7 separate regions of the Homo sapiens genome follow, and all the other regions are linked to region 4. Evidence: promoter capture Hi-C in 16 types of primary human blood cells and fetal thymus (Javierre and others, 2016). All regions are on one chromosome and are shown on one strand. Each heading gives the region's core, a stretch centred on a gene start or on the middle of the fragment in contact. The rest is flanking DNA. Distances are from core to core; before and after follow the strand shown. Region 1 holds the start of KRT222 (keratin 222). Region 2 overlaps KRT25 (keratin 25). Region 3 overlaps LOC105371776 (a long non-coding RNA gene). Region 4 holds the start of KRT14 (keratin 14). Region 5 holds the start of KRT26 (keratin 26). Region 6 holds the start of LOC105371777 (a long non-coding RNA gene). Region 7 overlaps KRT28 (keratin 28).

Evidence for each region. Contacts are between HindIII fragments. The CHiCAGO score rates a contact against its expected background, and 5 or more counts as called.
Region 1: a contact is called between the fragment with the promoter of KRT222 here and the fragment with the promoter of KRT14 in region 4, in 1 of 17 cell types (M0 macrophages). The highest score is 6.7, in M0 macrophages.
Region 2: a contact is called between a fragment that was not itself captured here and the fragment with the promoter of KRT14 in region 4, in 1 of 17 cell types (activated CD4 T cells). The highest score is 5.4, in activated CD4 T cells.
Region 3: a fragment that was not itself captured here is called in contact with the fragment with the promoter of KRT14 in region 4 in 2 of 17 cell types (M0 macrophages and M2 macrophages); the score reaches 7.3 in M0 macrophages.
Region 5: a contact is called between the fragment with the promoter of KRT26 here and the fragment with the promoter of KRT14 in region 4, in 12 of 17 cell types (endothelial precursors, M2 macrophages, naive CD8 T cells and 9 more). The highest score is 8.2, in endothelial precursors.
Region 6: a fragment that was not itself captured here is called in contact with the fragment with the promoter of KRT14 in region 4 in 11 of 17 cell types (total B cells, total CD4 T cells, naive CD8 T cells and 8 more); the score reaches 9.8 in total B cells.
Region 7: a contact is called between a fragment that was not itself captured here and the fragment with the promoter of KRT14 in region 4, in 1 of 17 cell types (M1 macrophages). The highest score is 6.4, in M1 macrophages.

The regions. Positions count from the first base shown.
Region 1 is chr17:40,663,913-40,667,295 of GRCh38, reverse strand. KRT222 (keratin 222) reads left to right here and starts at 2,119. Exons shown (of 6, transcript NM_152349.3): 1 at 2,119-2,292. The coding sequence starts at 2,197. The HindIII fragment of the contact is 3,418 bases long and covers 1-2,933 here.
Region 2 is chr17:40,750,868-40,754,418 of GRCh38, reverse strand. KRT25 (keratin 25) reads left to right here. Exons shown (of 8, transcript NM_181534.4): 2 at 1-33; 3 at 403-559; 4 at 3,093-3,254; 5 at 3,340-3,465. Among named protein-coding and RNA genes, the nearest start is that of KRT25, 2.7 kb to the left of the region's middle. The HindIII fragment of the contact is 2,758 bases long and covers 279-3,036 here.
Region 3 is chr17:40,811,647-40,814,864 of GRCh38, reverse strand. LOC105371776 (a long non-coding RNA gene) reads right to left here. Exons shown (of 4, transcript XR_934753.2): 4 at 737-917. Among named protein-coding and RNA genes, the nearest start is that of KRT10-AS1, 5.9 kb to the left of the region's middle. The HindIII fragment of the contact is 4,415 bases long and covers 1-3,218 here.
Region 4 is chr17:41,584,846-41,588,520 of GRCh38, reverse strand. It overlaps KRT14 (keratin 14), which reads left to right and starts at 1,626. Exons shown (of 8, transcript NM_000526.5): 1 at 1,626-2,211; 2 at 3,464-3,546. The coding sequence starts at 1,687. LOC124904003 (a long non-coding RNA gene) reads right to left here and starts at 174. Exons shown (of 2, transcript XR_007065755.1): 1 at 1-174. RefSeq lists an enhancer at 2,723-3,224. The HindIII fragment of the contact is 10,096 bases long and covers 1-2,479 here.
Region 5 is chr17:40,770,408-40,773,820 of GRCh38, reverse strand. It overlaps KRT26 (keratin 26), which reads left to right and starts at 1,620. Exons shown (of 8, transcript NM_181539.5): 1 at 1,620-2,148; 2 at 2,585-2,667; 3 at 3,412-3,413. The coding sequence starts at 1,708. The HindIII fragment of the contact is 2,390 bases long and covers 1-1,873 here.
Region 6 is chr17:40,849,782-40,853,149 of GRCh38, reverse strand. LOC105371777 (a long non-coding RNA gene) reads right to left here and starts at 2,352. Exons shown (of 3, transcript XR_934754.3): 1 at 2,290-2,352. The HindIII fragment of the contact is 2,913 bases long and covers 1-2,866 here.
Region 7 is chr17:40,792,774-40,796,339 of GRCh38, reverse strand. KRT28 (keratin 28) reads left to right here. Exons shown (of 8, transcript NM_181535.3): 6 at 2,294-2,511; 7 at 3,130-3,185. Among named protein-coding and RNA genes, the nearest start is that of KRT28, 5.4 kb to the left of the region's middle. The HindIII fragment of the contact is 6,389 bases long and covers 1-3,566 here.

The sequences.
Region 1 (3,383 bases), core at 870-3,369, 920 kb after region 4:
CCTGGCTAATTTTTTAATTTTTTTTTTTTGTAGAGTCTGGGTCTCTCTATGTTGCCCAGGCTTGTCTTGAACTCCTGAGCTCAAGCCATCCTCCCGCCTCAGCCTCCCAAAGTGCTGGGATTACAGGGGTGAGCCACTGTGCCCAGCTATTGAGCACTTTAAATGTGGCTGTTCCAAGCTGAGATGCGATGTAAGTATAAAATACACTTGGATTTCAAAGACAGTATCAAGAATAATGTAAAAGATCTCATTAACATTTTATATGGGTTGCTGCATTTTGGATATATCAAGTTAAATAAAATATAGTCGTAAAATTAATTTCACTTCTTTTTGTTTCAATCTTTTGATATGGCTACTAGAAAGTTTGGAAGGACATCTGTGGTTTGCATTTGTGGTTTGTGTTATATTTCCACTGGACAGTGCTGCTTTATTTAGGGTGCATAAGAAATGCTGGCAGACCTATTTAAAATGCAGATTGCCAGGACTGACCCTCCAGGGAATCTAGTTCAGCTCTCTGTGTTTCAGGCGGATATTAGCAGGAGCTACCTAAAGTAGCAGGAAGCATTTAATTCATTGCTCCCTGAATTTAATTTAGGAATTTAATTCATTGCTTTCTTCTCTCTCCTCCACTCCCAAGCCTAATTCTCTTCATATTTCTCAGTCCCAGTTACCAAGAAAGAGAATCAGTTTGGCCTAGATAATCATTAATGACTCTCTTTAGTCAGAGCTTTCTGTCTCAGCCTACTCCAAAGGTCTCTGACCAATCTATAGATAATCAAGTTGTGACTGATGGGGAAGGTGCAGGAGGTAGGGAGGGGTGGGTCAGAAATAACCTGGAACCTCTCCTCTCACCAGGAGCTGTGGGTAGGACAGCTTTGTTTGGAGAGGGCTGTGAGAATGCCCAGCATAGACTGGCCTGGCCAGATGTGAGTTAATTCAGAAATTAAAAGAGCAGGACATGCATGCAAAGGCCCTGTAAGGGCTAGAACCCAGGTCTGATTATCTCCTGAACTGTGCTCCAGATACAATTCAGCCAAAGCCACTCCACAAATAACAATAATGATAGATCCACTCTCACGACATATTTCTGTCACATCTAGCAACCAGCTGGCAAGATTAAACCAGGAATTTAGAAGGGGAGAGAGAGAACGCAGAGGCAGATATGCAGGGGTAATACATGGAACACAAGCAAGTTGTCAAAGAGCCAGTCCCAGTGATGTCATACATCACTGAGCAACCTTGGGCAAGATGCCTCAACCTCTCTGGCCTCAGTCTTTTCATCTTTACAGGTTAGAAAATGTCAGGGATTGCAAGGATTGGATGGAATGATACGCCAAATACACCCTCCGAAGGGCTCAAGTGATTGCAACGATTGGATGGAATGGTACACTGACTACACCCTCCAAAGGACTCAAGGGTTCTTTTGGTGAATACACCAAAAGGTCTATTTCTTCATCCTTGTTAAAACTTTGGAAATGTTAACTCACAACTCTCATAGTCTACCAGCACTTATCTGCAACATTTTGAGAAAACTAAATATAATTTTCTTTTTTTTTTTTTTTTTTTTTTTTGGAGATGGAGTCTCACTCTGTCACCCAGGCTGGAGTGCAGTGGCTCAATCTCGGCTCACTGCAACCTCCACCTCCTGGGTTCAAGCAATTCTCCTGCCTCAGCCTCCCGAGTAGCTGGGATTACAGGCACCCACCACCACGCCCAGCTAATTTTTGTATTTTTAGTAAAGACAGGGTTTCATCATGTTGGCCAGGCTGATCTCGAACTCCCGACCTCAGGTGATCCACCCACCTCAACCTCCTAAAGTGCTGGGATTACAGGCATGAGCCACCATGCCCGGCAATTTTCTTATGTTATGCCCCATTTCCTTTTCACAAAAATGAACTCCCCCTCCCCTCAAAGTGCTCAATTTTTACAGGGAACCAGTACAGGTTTTTGAAATTTTCCTTTCCTTCATGAAGAATCTGACATTTCTACTATACCAATAACAATAGGAGCAAAGAGTTTACCCTGTATTTGCATAATTAGTTAGAAAGATGAGAATTTCCGTGGCCTCCGAAAAAGGAGCTCTGCATCTTTAAAACTCTGCGAGGCTCCCTGCCTTCCGCGCAGACCGAGCAGACTGCCGCAGCGACTCATCCTATCGATAAGGTTCAGTTAGCCAAGGTGGAGGATGGGAAAAGAATGGAACTGTCCCAGCTACTCAATGAGATCAGGGCAAACTATGAAAAGATCCTCACCAGAAATCAGATAGAGACGGTGCTCTCAACAAGGATCCAGGTAATGATTTCATACAGACAGGCACCTTCCAGAATAAGGAGACAGTCCATGTCTACCCAATTCCTGTCCCGGCCTCTCTGAGGTACAGTATTTCCTTTTCGATGCAGCATCTATTGGGGAAGGAATTTAGCTTCTACTGCAGTGTGACTGGGACTACAGGGGGAAATACTGTGATTATATTGTTAAATTGCCATTAAGTAAGTGTTGATTGATGCATTTGATTTTTATATAAATTGTGAGGTTCCTATCATTAACATGGGGTCAACATACCATAAAATGGTGCACTCTAACCTCTTACAATCTTCAGGAAGGAACCATTCCAAATACCCTTCAAAGATATTATTGGAGTTATTTACAGAGATAATTTAAATAACATCTTTAAAATGAAAAATCTTTAAGTAAGATTTATTAGCATGTACACTTTCTAGAGATATTTCTAAAAGGTTTCTATCATCTTTTTAACGAGTTCCATTTTATACCAGATTGTTATAAATAGAAATCATCTGAGTGTGTGAACATGGCATTCAGAAACAATGATATAAATTATGACCATTGAAATTCCCCAAATTGGTAACGATTCTCCACTAAGATTTTTGCTTCTGTACTATAAGATGAGAAACATTTCTTTCCATTACAAAGCTTGTAATATTTAAGTATTTAAAAAAGAGAAAGAGAGCCTACTTAGATAAGGACTAAATCCTAATTTCATAGACTTAGTTTTAAAGTAACAATCACCTTCAGCAAGTAATTAAGGTCTCAAGTCTTTAAACAAATTTACAAACAAATATTTTAGAAACAAAGATTAAGAAATTTAGGGGATTTTTTAGTTTACCTATCATATATGGGTTCAAGTTATCTTCCAAACCCTGAAATACAGCAAAAAGTTTACTTAAGAATATCACCCAAAATTTTAAAAAAAAAAATTGGTAGAAAAATGTCAGGCCTTTATTCCATTAGCCACTCATTTTTAGTTCCATTGTAAATTTCACCTCTAGATAACATTTTCAGCCTTCATAAAGAATGATCAACATCTTAGATTAAGCAAAGTCACTGGTACAGGTAAGCATTGGGATAGTTCATTCACCTTTACA
Region 2 (3,551 bases), core at 408-2,907, 830 kb after region 4:
TGCCAGGCTTACAGCTGATGATTTCAGACTCAAGTAAGTAGACTGCCAGAGTGAAATGAATTCATGGCAATTCATGCAACGCATTACATCAAATTTAGCAACTCTTATTCCAAAATTATAAAACACTTGAATTTCACATAAACAGGATGTTATTACTTTTTTATGCTTTGACTATTAAATACAAAGCATGAACTGCTATTAAAACTAGCGCCCAATACCCTAGTTCTTTTTCTGTCAAATACTGCAAAGTAGAAACAATAATTATTATACAACAAGCTTTGAAAATGCCTCTTGTGGCCAAATCTTCAAAATTCCAGAATGCTAGCATTTGTCATTGATCAGTGACTAGTGACTATGTCTCCAACCATGTGACAAATTAGGAAATCATTAACACTCTTTAAGGTATGAAAATGAGCTGGCTCTTCACCAGAGTGTAGAGGCTGATGTCAATGGGTTACGAAGAGTTTTGGATGAAATAACCCTGTGCAGAACAGATCTGGAGATTCAGTATGAAACCCTGAGTGAGGAGATGACTTACCTCAAAAAGAACCATAAAGAGGTAAGAGCTGGTCGTCTACATTTTGCTATCCCTCCGCAGACACTGTGCACCTGACAGGAGATAATGTACATAACCTCTCATATAAAAAGTTGGTGCTGAAGACACATTGTCAGACAGACATGAGGGCTGAGCTGTCTTTTTTTTTTTTTTTTTTTTTTTTTTTTTTTTTTTTTTTTGAGACGGAGTCTCGCTCTGCCGTCCAGGCTGAAGTGCAATGGTGCGATCTTGGCTCACTGCAAGCTCCGCCTCCTGGGTTCACGGCATTCTCCTGCCTCAGCCTCCCGAGTAGCTGGGACTACAGGCGCCCGGCTAATTTTATGTATTTTTAGTAGAGACGGGGTTTCACTGTGTAAGCCAGGATGGTCTCGATCTCCTGACCTCGTGATCCACCTGCCTCAGCCTCCCAAAGTGCTGGGATTACAGGCGTGAGCCACCGCACCCGGCCTGAGCTGTCTTTTTAAGTGTCAGATTCTTTGTACAGATTCACCCTTGCTCTCTCATCAAGTTTCCTATGGGGAAAAAAAAAAACGAATCATGTTTTCCAGACCAATCAGGGTTATAAGAGCAGTGTTTGGCTGTGTAATTATAACTAAGTTAAAATGATCCGCTTTGGACATTAAGTCTAATTAGATAAAATAAATATAAAATAAATATACTTTAAGGCCATCCTTAAACTAGAAAACTAGATCTCAATTTCTAAATGACAGTGGCAGATTTAAAACACTAAAACATTTACTTCATACACACATTAAGTATACATACTTAACGCTAGTACATATTCTTAATAGGTCTGGCTGTAAAAATAATGAGCATGAAGTTAAACTATTATACCAGAATTTACACTTAATCATAAACTTCCAAAGTGGTCACTGTTGGAAGCTAAGTTCCAAATTTTATATTGCAGCAATTACATCTTTAGGATTGCTTTCAGAGGCACTGTTTTCCAAAAGGGAAAAATCTTTATCCTTTGAAAATAAATTTGATATTTTAAATAGCCAAAAGACTTCTATGGTCAAGCCAAATGCTTAAAACAGAAGATCAAGCTAAGAATCCTACTTGATTAGTCATGAGGCTGTCTTATAAATATAACTACTTGAATAACATTGATTTGACTACGTGGATTCAAATATAGTTACAGCCCATGGTGTTTAATCAATTTTTGATGAATCAAAAGCAATTGATTTTTGTAATGCCTCATTTACAGGCAACCCTAGATATAGATATAGATATAGATATATAGATATAGATGATATACATATATCTTTTTTTATCTTTTTCTTTTTATGCTTGAACCAGGAAGTTTTCACTAAATCCTCAGAAGTAAAAGCCACATCTGTAGATCAGGAAGACATAGTTTCAACCAGGAGGAAAGAAGGCTGGAATGGCTGAGGGGCTCGCTGCAGGGAGGAATGAAAGCCTTAGTTACCATCATTAAGACCAATTCATGAATGGGGAGGAGAGTTTCTGCAGCAGACATAAGCTGATGGGTGGTATTCCAATATACACAGTCTTCGCAGCGATGCCTACCATTCACAATCTTAGAACTGACTCACACATTCTAACAGCTTGCAGTTCAGACAGGGTAACATGTAGACTTTGACTGCAAAATAAATTCCAGCTTCCATGATGATAATAATCATAATAACCAGCATTCATTTAGCATTTATGTGCAAGGCAGTATCACGGAGTCTTATTATTATTATTAGTTCTTTGACTTCTTTTAACAACTCAGAGAAGGGTTTTTAATTATCCTCAATTTTCAGATAAGCAAATAGAAACGTAAAAAGGTTAAGCAACTTTCCCAAACTCACTAGCCACTATAGGGCAGAACCAAAATTCAGAGAGATCTGCGTGACTCCAAAGTCCAACATGATACTGTAATGTCCCTGTATAGACTTAATAGACAGCTGGGATTCTTTAGGGGATGATGTTCTTCCCTGAGGGGTACACACACACACACACACACACACACACACGCACGCACACACACACACACACACATACATTTATTTATTTATCATCATTTCAATTGTTCAGAATTATTCATACTCAACCCTTCAACCATGTTCATGGCTGTGCTCAGGGTGTAGCTGAGTTAACACTGCACCAAAGCTGGCCTCTAGTGGAAGGAAGACCAGTCCACAAAGGCCGAGAATAGAATAAGCGATGGAGGACCATTCATTTTAAATGTTTAAAACTTTCATATGGAAAAGGAATTAAGATGCATTCTGAGTAGTAGAACTGAAACTGATGAGTTTAAGTTATAAGAGCAGGAGTTTGGCTCACTATAATAAAGAACTCTGGAACAATTAAAACTCTCCCAGAATGAAACAGGCTACTTCATAAGGTAGTGAGTTCACCGTCTTTGAGAATTAGGTCAACGGGACAGGAAGTATCAAATGTGGTGGGAGGGGGTCAATGCACAGCCTGGGAGGGGAAAACCAGACGAACTCTAAGTGCCCTTCCAAAGCTAAGCTTCTAGACTTTCCATGAGATTCCTGCAGAGCTGAGCAGAACACTTTTCTGCCTCTAGGAAATGCAAGTTCTGCAGTGCGCAGCTGGAGGCAACGTGAACGTGGAGATGAACGCAGCCCCCGGGGTGGACCTCACAGTTCTGCTGAACAACATGCGAGCTGAGTACGAAGCCCTTGCAGAGCAGAACCGCAGGGACGCGGAGGCCTGGTTCAACGAGAAGGTGACTCTCCTCCAGAAAACGGTCCCTTTGCATGTTACTGGTATTCACAAAACTAAGATTTGCTCCTTCACTTATGTCATTTCAGAGCGCCTCCCTGCAGCAGCAGATCTCTGAGGATGTCGGAGCCACAACCTCAGCCCGGAATGAGCTGACTGAAATGAAGCGCACTCTTCAAACCCTGGAAATTGAACTTCAGTCTCTCCTAGCCACGGTATGAAAAGAACAATTTTTTTTCACCATCTCCCAGGTCATCATGTTAGATACTTGCCAGCTGGTTTTAAAAACCTTAACAATATT
Region 3 (3,218 bases), core at 346-2,845, 770 kb after region 4:
CTTTTTTATGGCTGCATAGTATTCCCTGGTGTATATGTGCCACAGTTTCTTAATCCAGTCTATCATTGCTGGACATTTAGGTTGGTTCCAAGACTTTGCTATTGTGAATAGTGCCACAATAAACATACGTGTGCATATGTCTTTATAGTAGCATCATTTATAATCCTTTGGATGTATACCCAGTAAAGGGATCGCTGGGTCAAATGGTATTTCTAGTTCTAGATCCTTGAGGAATTGCCACACTGTCTTCCACAATGGTTGAACTAATTTACACTCCCACCAACAGTGTAAAAGCGTTCCTATTTCTCCACATCCTCTCCAGCATTTGTTGTTTCCTGACTTTTTAATGACCGCCATTCTAACTGGTGTGAGATGGTATCTCATTGTGGTTTTGATTTGCATTTCTCTGATGACCAGTGATGTTGAGCATTTTTTCATATGTCTGTTGGCTGCATAAACGTCTTCTTTTGAGAAGTCTGTTCATTTCCTTTGTCCACTTTTTGATGGGGTTGTTTTTTTCTTGTAAATTTGTTTAAGTTCTTTGTAGATTCTGGATATTAGCCCTTTGTCAGATGGGTAGATTGCAAAAATTTTCTCCCTTTCTGTAGGTTGCCTGTTCACCATGATGATAGTTTCTTTTGCTGTGCAGAAGCTCTTTAGTTTAATTAGATCCCATTTGTCAATTTTGGCTTTTGTTGCCATTGCTTTTGGTTTTTCAGTCATGAAGTCTTTGCCCATGCCTGTGTCCTGAATGGTATTGCCTAGGTTTTCCACTTTTTCTTTTTTTCACAGCACTGTTTCCAACTTACTATACAATGTATTCATTATTAGTCATCCTTTTCCCCTGCTAGACGGTACACTCCAGAAAGACAACGCTTGATCTTCGTCTACTTTATCCATTCATGTATCCTGAGGCACTAGAACAGTGACTAACACAGGTTAGGTACCAAAAATATCGTTTTTGAAGGAATGAACTCTATGACATATATACTATTATTATCTCCATTTTACAGATGAAGAAACTGAAGCACAATTTAATTCATCACTGGAACTAAGAGTGTAGGAAATGATTATATATAAATGGACATTAGTGTATGATAAAGGAAGAATCTAAACCCTAAGAAAGTAAGGTTTATTCAGTAAATGATAAACTATTAAACCCATAACAAACATACTAGAAATAATCCAAATGAGTGTCTTAAACATCCATATAAGTAGTAAAAAAAAAGCAGAAAAAAATGTGTAATCACATTTTTTAAATTTTGAAATAATTATAGACTCGTTGGAAATTGCAAAAATAGTAGAGTCCAGTGTACTCCTGACTCACCTTCCCCAAATAGAGACATCTTCTATAGGCTAGGGTATAATATCTAAAATTTAAAAATTGGCATTGGTACATCACTGTTTAACTACAGAGCTTACTCAGTTTTTGTTTTTCCTAACCTGCATGTGTATTCACAAAATACAAATCTTATAAAGGACTGGCATATAGAATATAAATATAAAAAACTATAACTCAATAACAAGAAAAAACCACAAACCAAAAAAAAATTGTGTGTCTGTGCAATTGTACCCCATGTATAGGTACAATTTTTGTACCACCACCCAAATCAAGATACAGAACCATTTCATAACCACAAAAGAACTCCTTCATGCTACCTTTTTGTATTCACATGTGTACCTCAACACTCCCTTCCCAGTTCCTGGCCCCTGGCAACTACTAATCTCCATCTCTATAGTTTTACCATTTAGAGAATGCTATATAAGTGTAATCACACAGTATGTAACCTTTTGAGACTGAACATTTGTGTACACGTTTTGGTGTGAACATACATTTTCATTTCTCTGGGTTATATGTCCAAGCATATAATTGCTAGGTCATATGGTAGGTGCATGTTCAGTTTTGTAAGAAACCGCCAAACTGTTGTCCAGAGAAGCTGTACCATTTTATATTGCCACCAGCAATAAATGGGAGAGCAAATTTTTCTGCATCCTCATCAGTATTTGGCATTATCAGTATTTTTCTAATAGGTATGTACTTATAGCTCACTGAAGTTTAATTTGCATTTCCCTAATGGAAAATATGCTGAATAGCTTTTCTTTTTATTTTCTTTTTTTTCTCTCTCTTTTTTCTTGTTTTGAGACAGAGACTTTCTCTGGCGCCCAGGCTGGAGTGCAGTGGAGCAATCTCAGCTCACCGCAACCTCTGCCTCCCAAGTTCAAGTGATTTTCCTACCTCAGCCTCCTGAGTAGCTGGGATTACAGGCATGCGCCACCATGCCCAGCTAATTTTTGTATTTTTAGTAGAGATGAGGTCTCACCATGTCAGCCAGGCTGGTCTCAAACTCCTGACCTCAGGTGATCCACCCACTTCAGCCTCCCAAAGTGTTGGGATTACAGGCGTGAGCCACTGTGTCTGGCCTGAACAGCTTTTCATGTGGCTATTTGCCATCCGTATCTCCTCTTTGGTGAAACATCTGCTCATGTATTTTGATCATTATATAGCCCATTTGTATTTCATTGTGTTCTTTTCACTTAGGATTACTTTGGCTATTCATGATCTTCATCGGTCCCATATGAATGTTAGAATAGTTTCTTCTAGTTCTGTGAAAAATTACATTGGTGATTTGATAGGAATAGCATTGAACCTGTAGTTCGTTTTGGGCAGTATGGTCATTTTAACAATATTGACCCAATATCATTATTCACCCAATCCATGAGCATATGATGTTTTTCCATTTGTTTGTGTCATCTATTGAAAGTCACCGTCAAAATAATTTTAAAAAGCCAAAGACTGGGAGAAAATAGTCACAAAAATACAAATCTTATAAAGGACTGGCATATAGAATATAAATATAAAAAACTACAACTCAATAACAAGAAAAAAACCACAAACCAATTAAAAAATGGACAAAAGATTTGAACTGATACTTTATCAAAGAAGAGATACAAATGGCAAATAAGCACACAAAGAAGATGCTTGACATCATTAGACATTAGGGAAATACAAATTCTAAACATACCACTATACAACTATTAGAATGACTCAAAAAAAATTTTTTGATGGACAATACCAAGTGCAAGTAGGGATTCTGAGCAACTGGAACCCTCATATATTGCTAGTGGGAATGCAAAATTATAGTTTGGCAGTTTGTCATCGTGTTAAACATAGACTTAACATACAATCTAGCAATCTCACTCATAGACATTTATCCAAC
Region 4 (3,675 bases), core at 377-2,876:
TGCTGGCAGATTTGGGGAGCCCACAGCTCAGATGTCTGTCTCAGCATTGTCTTCCAAGCTCCTAGGCCACAGTAGTGGGGGGCTCCCTTCTCTGGCTTCTTCTTTGGTGACAGTCAAGGTGGGGTTGGGGGTGACAGAGGGTCCTGCTTCTCTTCTAGGAGCAGTTGATCCCAGGAAGAGCATTGGAGCCTCCAGCAGGGGCTGTTGGGGCCTGTCTGAGGAGATAGGATGCGTCAGGCAGCCCCAGACACGATCACATTCCTCTCAACATGCCTGCCGGGGTCTGTGGAGCCTAGGGGCTGATGGGAGGGTGGGGTGGGGGCCGGAAGGGTTTGCTTTGGGAGGTTGTCTGGGAGATTGCTGAAGTTTTGATATACACACCTCCAAAGCAGGACCAAGTGGACTCCTAGAAATGTCCCCTGACCCTTGGGGCTTCAGGAGTCAGGGACCCTCGTGTCCACCTCAGCCTTGCCCTTGGCACAGCCCAGCTCCACTCCAGCCTCTACTCCTCCCCAGAACATCTCCTGGGCCAGTTCCACAAGGGGCTCAAACGAGGGCGCCTGAGCTGCCCACACTAGGGATGTTCTGGGGGTCTGAGAAGATATCTGGGGCTGGAAGAATAAAAGGCCCCCCTAGGCCTGTTCCTGGATGCAGCTCCAGCCACTTTGGGGCTAAGCCTGGGCTATAACAATGCCAACGAGGCTTCTTGCCATACTCGGTTTACAAAACCCTTTCACATACATTGTCGCATTGGATTCTCAGAGCTGACTGCACTAAGCAGAATAGATGGTATGACTCCCACTTTGCAGATGAGAACACTGAGGCTCAGAGAAGTGCCAAGCCCTGGGTCACAGAGGCGTAAATGGCAGAGCCAGGACCCACCTGACTCCAGGCTGTTTCCTGGCCTCCATGAGGCCACCTGCCCTATGGTGTGGTGGATGTGAGATCCTCACCATAGGGAGGAGATTAGGGTCTGTGCTCAGGGCTGGGGAGAGCTGCCTGGATTTCTCTTTGATGGGGATGTTGGGGTGGGAACCACGATACACCTGACTAGCTGGGTGTATTTCAGGGATGGGACAGACTTCTCAGCACAGCATGGGAGGTCAGGCCTGGGAGGGCCCCCCAGACCTCCTTGTCTCTAATAGAGGGTCATGGTGAGGGAGGCCTGTCTGTGCCCAAGGTGACCTTGCCATGCCGGTGCTTTCCAGCCGGGTATCCATCCCCTGCAGCAGCAGGCTTCCTCTACGTGGATGTTAAAGGCCCATTCAGTTCATGGAGAGCTAGCAGGTAACTAGGTTTAAGGTGCAGAGGCCCTGCTCTCTGTCACCCTGGCTAAGCCCAGTGCGCGGGTTCCTGAGGGCTGGGACTCCCAGGGTCCGATGGGAAAGTGTAGCCTGCAGGCCCACACCTCCCCCTGTGAATCACGCCTGGCGGGACAAGAAAGCCCAAAACACTCCAAACAATGAGTTTCCAGTAAAATATGACAGACATGATGAGGCGGATGAGAGGAGGGACCTGGCTGGGAGTTGGCGCTAGCCTGTGGGTGATGAAAGCCAAGGGGAATGGAAAGTGCCAGACCCGCCCCCTACCCACGAGTATAAAGCACTCGCATCCCTTTCCAATTTACCCGAGCACCTTCTCTTCACTCAGCCAACTGCTCGCTCGCTCACCTCCCTCCTCTGCACCATGACCACCTGCAGCCGCCAGTTCACCTCCTCCAGCTCCATGAAGGGCTCCTGCGGCATCGGGGGCGGCATCGGGGGCGGCTCCAGCCGCATCTCCTCCGTCCTGGCCGGAGGGTCCTGCCGCGCCCCCAGCACCTACGGGGGCGGCCTGTCTGTCTCATCCTCCCGCTTCTCCTCTGGGGGAGCCTGCGGGCTGGGGGGCGGCTATGGCGGTGGCTTCAGCAGCAGCAGCAGCAGCTTTGGTAGTGGCTTTGGGGGAGGATATGGTGGTGGCCTTGGTGCTGGCTTGGGTGGTGGCTTTGGTGGTGGCTTTGCTGGTGGTGATGGGCTTCTGGTGGGCAGTGAGAAGGTGACCATGCAGAACCTCAATGACCGCCTGGCCTCCTACCTGGACAAGGTGCGTGCTCTGGAGGAGGCCAACGCCGACCTGGAAGTGAAGATCCGTGACTGGTACCAGAGGCAGCGGCCTGCTGAGATCAAAGACTACAGTCCCTACTTCAAGACCATTGAGGACCTGAGGAACAAGGTGGGTGAATGGGCAGCAGAAGGCACCATTCCAGCTAGCTCCTTCTGGGAACAATTCATGCCCCAGGCCCCTGAGACCTTAAGATTTCTCTATAGGACAGAGTCCACCCCAGATCCCTTCTTTCGAGGTCTTGGATGCCCTAAGACTGATCAGTGAGAAGATGCTTTCCCTTCCCCAGCCTCCTCATCCCCTTCTGATCTCAAATCCTCAGACCATGTGAGATCAGTGATTCCTATCCTTACATTTTTTAGAGGAAGCAGTTGAAGCTTCGAGAGGTGCTGTGACCAGCTGCAGGTCACATAGCAAATTAATGGCAGAGCCAAGGCTGGGGCCCTTGTGCCCTACCTTCCAGCACAGGAGGCAGCTACTTGTTCTCCAGCACAGGGGAGGAGTGAGGCTCTAACGGGACCAGGCAAGACATCCAAACCACTCATTAGCTCACTAGTCTGGGCTGTGGCTGCCGCCGCCCATAAGCCTTGGTACAGGCTGGTCCCTCCCCACAGCCAGGCGGGCATGGAGAGCCTGCAGAGACAATTAGTGTGGTCCCTTGATGTGCCCTGCACAGAGAGAGCCTGGCAGGCTTGTGCCCTGACTCTAGCCCCCTCCTCCCTGCTCCCACATTACTTGGGAGCCCTCCCTGCTGGAGTCTGTTGGGCTCTAATGACTTGCATGGATTAGGGAAATTCAATGATGAGGTGGGGAAATCCAACCAGACTCAGGGGCCAATATATCTTCTTATTCTTCCCCTGAGTCCTCTTTTCTAATCCCCTGTGTTAGTTGGGTTTTATCTCTTGAGAAAGTTCCACTTGAAGTCCCATGGCCTGTGAGCTTGAAAAGGAATGTGCATATCTGCAGAGGACTGGCAGGGCTGGCTGATGCAGACAGAAGAGAGGTCAGCTCAGGAAGGAGGGCTAGGGAGCCTCAGATTATTCTCCTCACCTGGAGGTGGGGAACTTGAAGCCCCAAGACCCATTAGGTTTTGCAGCAAGACACTGGCAGAATTGGGACCAGAACTCCTGGGCTTTCGATTCTAAGCCCGGGGCTGCATCTACCCCCTCTGTTGACCATGAGTTAGCAAAGTCTTAGGACAGGCCTGGGGCATCTGTTTTCCTTTGGGCTGCTATGGTCAAGTTTTGTGGGGGAAAAGGGGGATTCAGGCAAGAACATGAAGCAAGAGCTTAATGTAGGCTACAGTGAAGTCCAGCTTGTGAAGTCCATTTGACAAATTACCTGTGCCTTTTCCATCCTGCAGATTCTCACAGCCACAGTGGACAATGCCAATGTCCTTCTGCAGATTGACAATGCCCGTCTGGCCGCGGATGACTTCCGCACCAAGTGAGTTTGAAATGGTGGGCCAGAACATCCAGTGTCCCCAGAGTAGGGCATTTTTGGAGCAGTGTTTCCCAAATAGAACTAGCCAGTACCAGGATAGGTGCATGAAAACTCCCTGGGGTGCTTATAAAA
Region 5 (3,413 bases), core at 371-2,870, 810 kb after region 4:
AGAAACTCAAGCCTTATAAATCATTAAACTGACAATACTCTCTGTTTTTCTTGTTTTATTTCTGGGAAAAATTAGCAAAAGATTAAAAATTTGACCAGGTCACAACAAAATCAGTAAAAAGTCTCTAAACAGGAACTGTATCTAGGTTATCATGCACTGTTCTAAACATAAGCTGATGGTCCAGTTATAGCTCTGTATTTATTATTTATTTTTAAATATTTTTGATTTAGAAAATCCATGCAGTCCACTAAATGTTCCATACGATTTAGTGACAATAATGTTGGATGTTTTCCAAAGGATTCACTATCCACAACATTGAAAAATATCATTCGGAAGAAAATTACTGTTTCAAAACTAAACCCATAATTAGTTAACCAATCAATTTGTATCATTATAGGTGATAGAGACCCGACCCTGTCTGACATGTCCACTTTATTATAATAATTTAAATAATTAACATTTAAAAATGTTTGTGCCTTTCAAACTGTCTTATCGTCATTCATGATTGGAACTGCTCAACATTCATTTGAGACTCTTTGATGCTATTATTTTCATTTGCCCAGTAGGGAAATGATCCAAGCCTGGATAACTTCCCAAGAGCATCAAGGCAAGAGAATAAAGAGTACTTCCCTGTGACAACTTATCTTCTCTCTAGGGTACTATAAGTACTGGTTTTCTAGGTAATGATGAAAACACCTCCCTCCTTATATATTTTACTCCTTGCTAATCAATATGATGCTCACTTCTCAAAATAATTCCTAATGTCTTAAATACATACATTTAAACTAAAAGACAGTAAACACTATTTAGGGGTAGGGAAGTGAACAATTTGGAGACTGTTAGTTGAATTGATGTCCTGCTCCTGGACCAAACCAAGAAATCTCAATCGAATTAATTCTCCACCATCATCACATATTCATGAATTATATTGAAATTAACAATAAGCAGGACTGCAGGATTTCTATTACTTCAGTTTTCAATTCAAGAAATGGTAGATTTCTTTTAAAATCTCCCACTACCAAAAGATCAATAGATGCTGAGATTTTCTGGTTTTGATAAGAAGGAAAACACACACCCAGACACCCAGGGCAGTGGCTCACACCTGTAATGCTGGCCACAGGAGGCTGAGCTGGGTGCTGAGGCTGAGGATCACTGGAGGCCAGGAGTTCGAGACCAGCCTGGGAAACATAGCGAGACCACATATCTTTAAAAAAAGGAAAAAAGAAAAAGAAACGAAAGGAAGAAAGGAAGCACTCAATGAAGTGGGAATACTAGAAATACTCTATGAGCGTTAACAGGACAAAAGTAGGAGACATTTCTCATTGGAATTATTAATTCTTTGTTATATGTGGCAGGGGGAGAATCTAGATTCTATTAATATTCCAGTGGCCAAAAAGATGCACATTTAGTCATATTTAATTTTGGCCTTTGAGGCTATGATTTAGTTTTACTTCACCTGGCACCATTTTTATATATAAAAAATATCCTTGGGGCACCTTTCCACCTACAGACTGGACGCTGTTAAAAATTACCCAATTGTGAAAAACAACAATTAGGATGCAAGTAAATTTTATTACAGACTGGCATAGTCAAGACTGAAATGACCCAGTGAATACTATAAAAGGCCAAGGGAGCTAACAAGTGTGGAAGGTGAACCCTGGCTTTGCTCCTCTTTCTGGGAAGGGGTTGCCCGGCTGTGCTGCCACCATGTCTTTTCGACTTTCTGGTGGATCCAGGAGGATCTGCTCGCGAACTGGGTCTGGTAGGCTGTCCGGTGGAGGAACAGGCTTCGTGGCTGGGAATGTGTGTGTTGGATCGGGAGCAAGAAGCAGCTTTTCTTGTACTCTTGAGGGCATCTCTTCTGGAGGAAGCTTCTGCAATAGCGGTGGAGGGTTGGGAAGTGGTGCCTGTGCTGGTTTTCTTGGCAATGAGCACAGCCTCCTCTCTGGGAATGAAAAGGTGACCATGCAGAATCTCAACGACCGCCTGGCATCCTACCTGGACCATGTGCATGCTCTAGAGGAGGCCAACGCAGACCTGGAGCAGAAGATCAAGGGCTGGTACGAGAAATGTGAGCCTGGCTCTTCCCGGGAACACGATCATGACTATAGCAGATACTTCTCAGTCATAGAAGATCTTAAAAGGCAGGTAAGAAATAGGGATTTGCATACTTTTACTACAGACTTTGTGTGTTGATAATTTAAAGAAGAGAAAATATAAAATGTGCCTAACAAATTTATGTGATGTAAGATTTGTTCACTCTGTATTTCCAGTGCTAAGCACAGTACCTGGCAATAAAATCTTGTAGAATTAAATAATGAAAAAGAAATCATTTCAAAACAGATATAGTCACTTCGTTTTTCATATATTTAGCTCATACCATTTGATCAAAAGTAGTAAAAGTATCTATGTGGCTCTTAAGCTCTGGATGCTTATTATCTGAAGAAAATCCAGATTTCTTTAACATAGAAAAAAGATACTAAAACAGATGTTTGACAGATTAAGAAGATATAAAATCACACTGAAGTCTGGAGCCTCCTTTGACTTTTGGTAATTAACATTTTTCACAATCTTCCCTATTTAGATTATTTCTGCGACCATCTGCAATGCCAGCATTGTTCTACAAAATGACAATGCCAGACTGACCGCTGATGACTTCAGGCTGAAGTAGGTGAAAACAAACTGATTAATTATATTAATAAAAGTTAAAATATTACAATTGGATTAAGGAATATATATTTTGCTTTGAAAACCAAAATGTTTTTCTAAAGCCAGACTAGATCAATAAAGAAATTGAATTAAATAAGCCGTTATAAAAAGAGCTATCATGGTTGGATAGAGTAGCTCATGCCTGTAATCCCAGCACCTTGGGAGGCTGAGGCAGGCAGATCACTTGAGGTCAGGAGTTTGAGACCAGCCTGGCCAATGTGGCAAGACCCCGTCTCTACTAAAAGTACACACACAAAAAAATAGTCAGGCATGGTGGCTCACTCCTGTAATCCCAGCTACTTGGGAGGCTGAGACATGAGAATCACTTGAACCCGGAAGGTGGAGGTTGCAGTGAGCTGAGATGGGGCCACTGCACTTCAGTCTGGGTGACAGAGTGAGACTGTCTCAAAAACAAACAACAAAAAAGAGCAATCACATATTTTTTAAAATCTAAAATCTAGCAATATTTTATTTAATTGTTAAGCACATTGGATGACAAAAATCAGCTCTGAAGAAATAACATCCCCAAAATACAATTCATGAATTGTTAGGTATCTCAAACCATTTTAGCAGTTTGCCATTGCAAGAAGCTTCAGAGGTATGTACAGAACATCATATCTTTCAGCATATGAAATACCTTAAAAAGTTGTGCTTTGCACCTGCCTACGATGACAACTCTCAGGTGCCTTACTAATCTTTCAGGT
Region 6 (3,368 bases), core at 161-2,660, 740 kb after region 4:
ATAACCTCAGTTTTTATGATCTAAAGGCAAATACATGATAAAGTTTCATACAGTTTTTACATTGTATATTACAATTTACATTGGATAAAAAGTACCTCCCAAGGTGCTTTACGGTGTTTTCACTGGATACCCATTTTAAACAGCCTTATGTGCTGATTCTGGATGATAATTTTAATGTTAAACTTCCCTAGCCTATCTAATATATGACTGAGTAGGCTGACAAATAATAAAATAAATGTTTATCATTTAAAAAATACAAATATATATAATCAGCATCCAATAGAGATAATCCTGGAACAAAAATTAGTACTACAGAATTAGATCCAGGCTAATCAGAATCCAGCAGTGGTGTTATAGGAAAGCACAACAATGAAGTCCTTCTCAGTGTTATTACTCAGAGGCTAGGGGTAAGAAAAAGTCCTTCAGGTGATGTGAAGTTAGGAGAATTTTACTCAGTTCCCCTGTGTGACTATGGAAGGTGTTTTTACAGCTTGCAGAGCTGAAGGAGATAGAACTGAACGCTGGCCAGTGGGAAGACAAGAACTGCTCAAGGGAAAGGAAGGTCTCAGTAGGGAGGAGAACCTGATGAAAGTTTTAGTCATCATTATCATGATTATCTGTCACCTCCAGGGTACACAGGTAACAGTTGCATTAAAGAGGAGATCATTTCTGAGGAGCTAAAGGACAATATAATATTATAACACCAAAGACACAAAGCTGAAGTAGCAGGTTACACAATTATTTGCCAATTTGTCCACAGGGAGACTTTTTAGCTGCACTTTCCAAAGCATTGGCACTCTGAAAACTTAATCATATAAAACTACATTCCCAACATGTAGAATATGTATCATAAAACACTTGCTATACACATATATCCAAACATCTTATGTCCTTATGATAATTTATCTCTGAACTAAAAATCTATTTAGGATCACTATGGATCATTTAAATTATGTTTCATTTTGTCAGAAAAAAAAATCAAATAATAAAGCATTATTTTAACTGGCTTTTACCTTTCAGTTAAATTGAACTTTAACTAAACAATCAAAGAAAAATTATTCCTCTATCAATGTTGATCTAAAAATCTTTCAATTGTAGCTTTTTAACTAGGTCAAGCTCCAAGTCTCCTGACCCTAGATTTATTTATTCATTCATTCAACAGATACCTATACATATCCTGGCCATATCTGGTATTTTGCCTCCTCATCCAAGCCACTATTTATGTCTCTCTCCTGGCTGACCACACAGCTTCCACCTGTACCCACCTCTCTTCCACTCTTTCCACCAGAGCTGGGGGGATCATTTTGAAAAAGCTGATCCAGTCACTCCATTGCTTAAAGGCCTTCAAAGGCTTCCTATTGTCCTTGGAATAAAGACCAAAACCCAGCAAGGTATGGCCTGGCCTGGCCCCCTCTACCCTCTTTCAAATCGTGTGCCCTCTCTCCCCCTCTATCTTCTCCAAACCTACTGGTCTTGTTTACTTTATTTTTGTATATATTTAAGATATACAGCATATGAGGTTTTGATATACATATACTGAGTGACAGCAATACTACAGTCAAGTAAATTCTAACGCCATGCTCCTTCCCACTCTGGCAGCTTCTCACAAACTTTCCCTCTTTACCTAGAATGAGCCTCCACCCCCATTTTGGCCTAGTTAACAATCCTAGTCACCAGTTAGGTCCTAACTCAAATGCCCCTCATTAACCAAGTCAGGTTCTCCTATTCTACCTTCTCATACTATACTGTAGTTATCCTTCACAGCTCTTAGCGCAATTTGCAATTATACATTTATTTGTATGAATATTGAAATAATGTCTGGCTCTACCACTGCATTCTCTCTAAGGGCAGCGGCCATGTCTGTTTTGCCCTCCACTGTAGCCCTGGCATCTAGCACAGTGCATAAAACAGCACATATACCCTACTGCATAGGAGACAATCAATACTTGTTGAATACCTGTGCACAGAATTACGTACAAATGCTAGAATATTCACTCAGTAAAAGCTGGAATAATGCCTGTATTACTCTCCTGGGCTCAAGCAATCTGTCCACCTCAGCCTCCCAAAGTTCTTGGATTACAGGTATAAGCCACTGTGCTTGACCACCTGTATTACTCTCTAGGTACCATTAAAAGCACTCAATAAACACTGGTTGCACAAACATTGAATGGTGGCGATATATTTCTTCTATTATTTTCTTGAAATAGTCATTGAATTTTTATCCACTGATTTATTAACTCTAAATTTTCCAACACTTATCTTTGGAAAGACTGAATGAACAAACCCTACCTTATTAAGGCGCAGAAGCTAAGGAGTGTCCATCACAAAGGAAGCAAAGAGGATGGTTTGCATAGATTCCATTTGAATCTATTTGTTTTGGTTACTCTATTTAAAATATGCTTGCGTCATATGAAATTGAATTCCACTTACTTCCTTCTCCTTAAATCTTAATAAAGGAATTAGGCTGGCTGTTTGAGACTAAAAAATCCATCAAGAAGTTGTTTGCATTTTACTGAGATATTTGTTGAATTCAATATTTCCAGAAAACCCTCAAGATACTTGTCACTCTATAGGGACACAAAATTTTCTTATCTAATATGTACAATCTTTAACTTGACAATTTCACAAGGCATATTGATATAAATCATATTGCTCAATATCTGGTGACTCAGTAGAAAGTGATCTTCAGTTTCAACAAGCAGTCTTTTAATTCATGACGCTTTTTCTTAAGGAAATTAACCTGAGGACTTTTTCCCATACATCTAAAGAGTACTAGAAGTTGCTTTCAAAACATAGAGTAACTTGGTTTCCATGTAGTATTTATAAGAAAAAAAAATCTGTAGATATTCACTTATAAAGGCAAGCTTGGAATCCTCTAATTCGTCATTAAAGTGTGCTTTGTATGTAGGCAATCGCCTAACCATAGATACAAAACTGAGTTATCTTAAAATGGCTGATGGAACACTGGCTTTCCATGAAAATATTCAGTCTGAAAATGTAATACTCCTGCCAATCTAGATCAAAATAGAACTTGTTCTCCCTTAATAACGAGGTGTTCTATCTAAAAAACATTGTGCTCTCTCTCTTTGGTGGTCTAGCAGTTAGGAATAAAAATTAAAAATAAGTAAAATACACTTTTCTCTCAATCAAACTAATATTTACTGGTCACTATGGAAGCAAATGGGAGCGGACTAGTCAGGTATGCAAATAACCTTGCCTCGCCAGGTATAAAGTGACCTGCCACAGAAGTTTGGAAAAGGGAGGTAATATAAAGGGCTGGGATATGAGGACCACTCTTTACAGCAGAAAGGCATCTGAGCAGAGCCTTGAGGAGTACATAAAATTTCAACATATGGTATTAAATGGGA
Region 7 (3,566 bases), core at 63-2,562, 790 kb after region 4:
ACCACCAGCTCCTGGCTTACTTCAAAGGTCAGCATGGCGTCAACCCAGGATTAAAAATGGCTTCCCTTCTAGAGTGTGAGCTGGCAGTGCCCAAAAGGCTTGACTTTGAGAATTACGGCATGCACATGGCCTAAGGACTCCCTTCCCCATAAGAGGTTTCGTGCCTCCTGAGGACACCAGGTTGTAACACAAAGAAGAGAGCAGCTGTTACCCAAGTGAGTGCAGTGAGCCAAAAAGGAAAAGATGACTCAAAACAACGGGAGATTCTTTTGATTTAGCCGCCCTCTAAAGGTGTGTGCTTTCTCCCTATATCGGATTTAGATGGGAGACTTGTTTTTACACTGACTGGCCCCTAACTTAACCAGGATGGCCCTCTTCTCCTCTCCCTCATCACTGCTGCTAGCAGGTACCCGAGACACCCCTGCCACTGTGGGCTCCTGGAACCTTCCTTTCTTCTCCATTTCCCTTCTTCCCTGAACTAGATCCCTGAGGACTCTGTTCCTGCTGCAGGAGCTGTGTGAGTGAATCCTCCCTCTATTTCTGAGCTACGCTGATGGAAATACATTTTCGAGTCCCCAGACCAGAATTGTGAGCATTTTCACATAGAAACAAGGATGTTATAAAGTAGTTAGAGTCTGTGCAGCCAGTGGTACTATAATTTGGGCTCATAGGATAATCCACACATAAAAAGCCCACTTAACACAGGACATAACTGAATTCTAGAATAATGGGAGCATAGTACCTAACTTACATCCCTGAGGCCCTGTTGTCTTATGAATTCTAAGCTCAATCTCCTAGAGTTAGAACACAAGTCATTTGTAAGTTGGGAGTTGTCTAAATACACAAATGTTCACGTTTGCTTCCTGTGATGTACAAACTTTCAAGTTCATCCTGTTCTCCTCCCTCTTTGACAAGCCAGCCTTCACGGTGGAAGACTGTGAAGTAGAGACGCTGTCCTCTCTGACTTATGAGTGTATTAGCAATCATAAAAAGGAATACCCTAGGAGGACGCATTACCAGGGAAATTAAAGTTTTGAGCTGCCGAGCACACGCCTCACTGGCGTCTTGCTACCTGTTGCCTTACTCTCCGCATTACCATCCTGATCTCCTTCCACTTACCTGCTCCTGGAGAGCCCAGCACCCTCCATGTAACACGTCTGTTTGCCTAAGTCAGTAGCTCTAAGTCAGTGTTAGGTTCTCAGCCCCATTAGACCCAATGTCTGCCCGTTAAGACAAATATTGTGTAATTCCTTCTTTGCAATGCTAGAATGAAGTCACTAGGTAATAGATTTAGAAATATACAAAATTATTTTTTAAAGTATAATACCATAAATGCAATAAAAAGGCAAGTATTTTAAGATAAAATGTATTTACTAGGTAAATACTTGGGCCTAACTACCCTAGAAAATGTAATGAAAGAGGCAGAGCCTTGCATCTTCTCTTAATAAATCTTTCATTTTCAACCATGTAAGATCAGAAGTTCCTCCACACAAGAAAAGGAAAATGAAAGAGTGGAAGTTGGGGTGGACACTTGGATAATAACTAATATCAACAGAAGTAATAATTGCCCAGACATATTTATCTATAATAAGGGAAAGAGGAAAATTACCTTAATTAAAGGAGGCAGCAGGTGCCAAGACAAATTACAGACTGTAGAAGTAGCAAAGAGGAAGTATGATATTCATAAGAGTAGTGTCGAAATAATGACCTGTATTGTGTTATGAGATATAGCTCTTGCCTTGAAATCTCACATCTGTTAAGGCACTCATTCAATCTCAGGTACCTTAATAAAAGACCTTTGATAGAGGCTAGAAAATCAAGGATGGATTAGAGAAAAAAAAAGCAGTAGCACAAAAGGCCATGGAACACTAGCGGAGTGGATCTGCGGGGACAGTAGCAGAGTAAGATGGAAACAACAGGTAACCCTGAAATAAATATATAATTTCAAAATACAAGTTTTCCCATATCGATTTTTTATTCTGCTACCCTTAAAAGGTGCTTTAATATATCAGTTGGTTTTAATAGAAATATGACCTATATATCATCAATGTCCAGTGGAACATCAAAAGTCTTGTGGGAAAAGGGCCATTTATCCCGGGTCAGGATCCCACGTCCATCATGCCTGGCCCTCACTTCATAAATGCCAGCCTCCTTTCTTTCCCATTTGATTGTGACAAGCCTCACAAATTTCCACAATTGCCCAGGGAGCAATCCTGCTGATTACTGAGAAACAATGTTCTACTAGTCCTCAGAGTGTTTTCATCCCTTGCCACGGCTTCTTTGATGTCCTCAGAAACACTCCCTGGAGTGCTCCTTGACAGAGACCGAGAGCAACTACTGTACGCAGCTGGCGCAGATCCAGGCTCAGATCGGGGCCCTGGAGGAGCAGCTGCACCAGGTCAGAACCGAGACCGAGGGCCAGAAGCTGGAGTATGAGCATCTCCTCGATGTCAAGGTCCACTTGGAAAAAGAAATTGAGACCTACTGCCGCCTGATAGATGGAGATGGAAAGTAAGTAAAGCCATTTGAAAATCCAGTTTTTACCTCTTTTAAGCTACAAATGTGGGCTGCCCATTAGCCTTCCATACTTCCAAGCCTTTTCTTTTTCATTCCCACTGCAGAAAAGCATGTCCATCTCTTGTTTTTTTGGAAGAGAGTCATCTCTTCCAAATCCTGTTCATCACAGTGTTCTCCTCTGCATTAGATGACTGGAAATGTTCCTGCAGCCATTCCCATCTGTTGTCCATGTTAATCACTGTGGGTTTCAAGATTCTCTCCACCTCCCACAAGCAGGCTTTATCCTTCTTTCAGTGCATACCTAATTTCACTGCTGCCCTGAAATAAATGTACTCTGTACAAACCACCTGGATCCATATATATATGTATGTCCTTAAGTTTTAAATTCTTGGGTGTAAAAAAAAAAATCAAATGGAAACAAGATTTATTTATATTCTCTCTTTAGATAACATTTAATTACTTTCAGCTCCTACACATAAAAATCTTAAGAGTTTCCTCTATAGAAAACTAAGACCTGTTTTTGGCATACAAATTTCATTCATTGAGTCAATGAATATTTCTGAAGCGATAGTAAGCAGAAATATAAAAGAATAAACTATATTTCTTTTACAGTTCATGCTCCAAATCAAAGGGCTTTGGATCAGGAAGCCCTGGGAATTCATCTAAAGGTAATAAAATCTAGTTCTATTTCTTTTCTTTTCTTTTCTTTTTTTAAATTTTTTTGAGACAGAGTCTCGCTCTGTTGCCCAGGCTGGAATGCAATGGTGCTATCTCGGCTCACTGCAACCTCCACCTCCTGGGTTCAAGTGATTCTCCTGCCCCAGCCTCTTGAGTAGCTGGGATTACAGGCACCCACCACCATGCCCAGCTAGTTTTTATATTTTTAATAGAGACGGAGTTTCACCATGTTGGCCAGGCTGGTCTCAAACTCCTGACCTCAGGTGATCTGCCCACCTCGGCCTCCCAAAGTGCTAGGATCACAAGCATGAGCCCTCTAGTTCTATTTCTATCACAGCAATACTTTTACATTAATGGCAGTCATACACTAC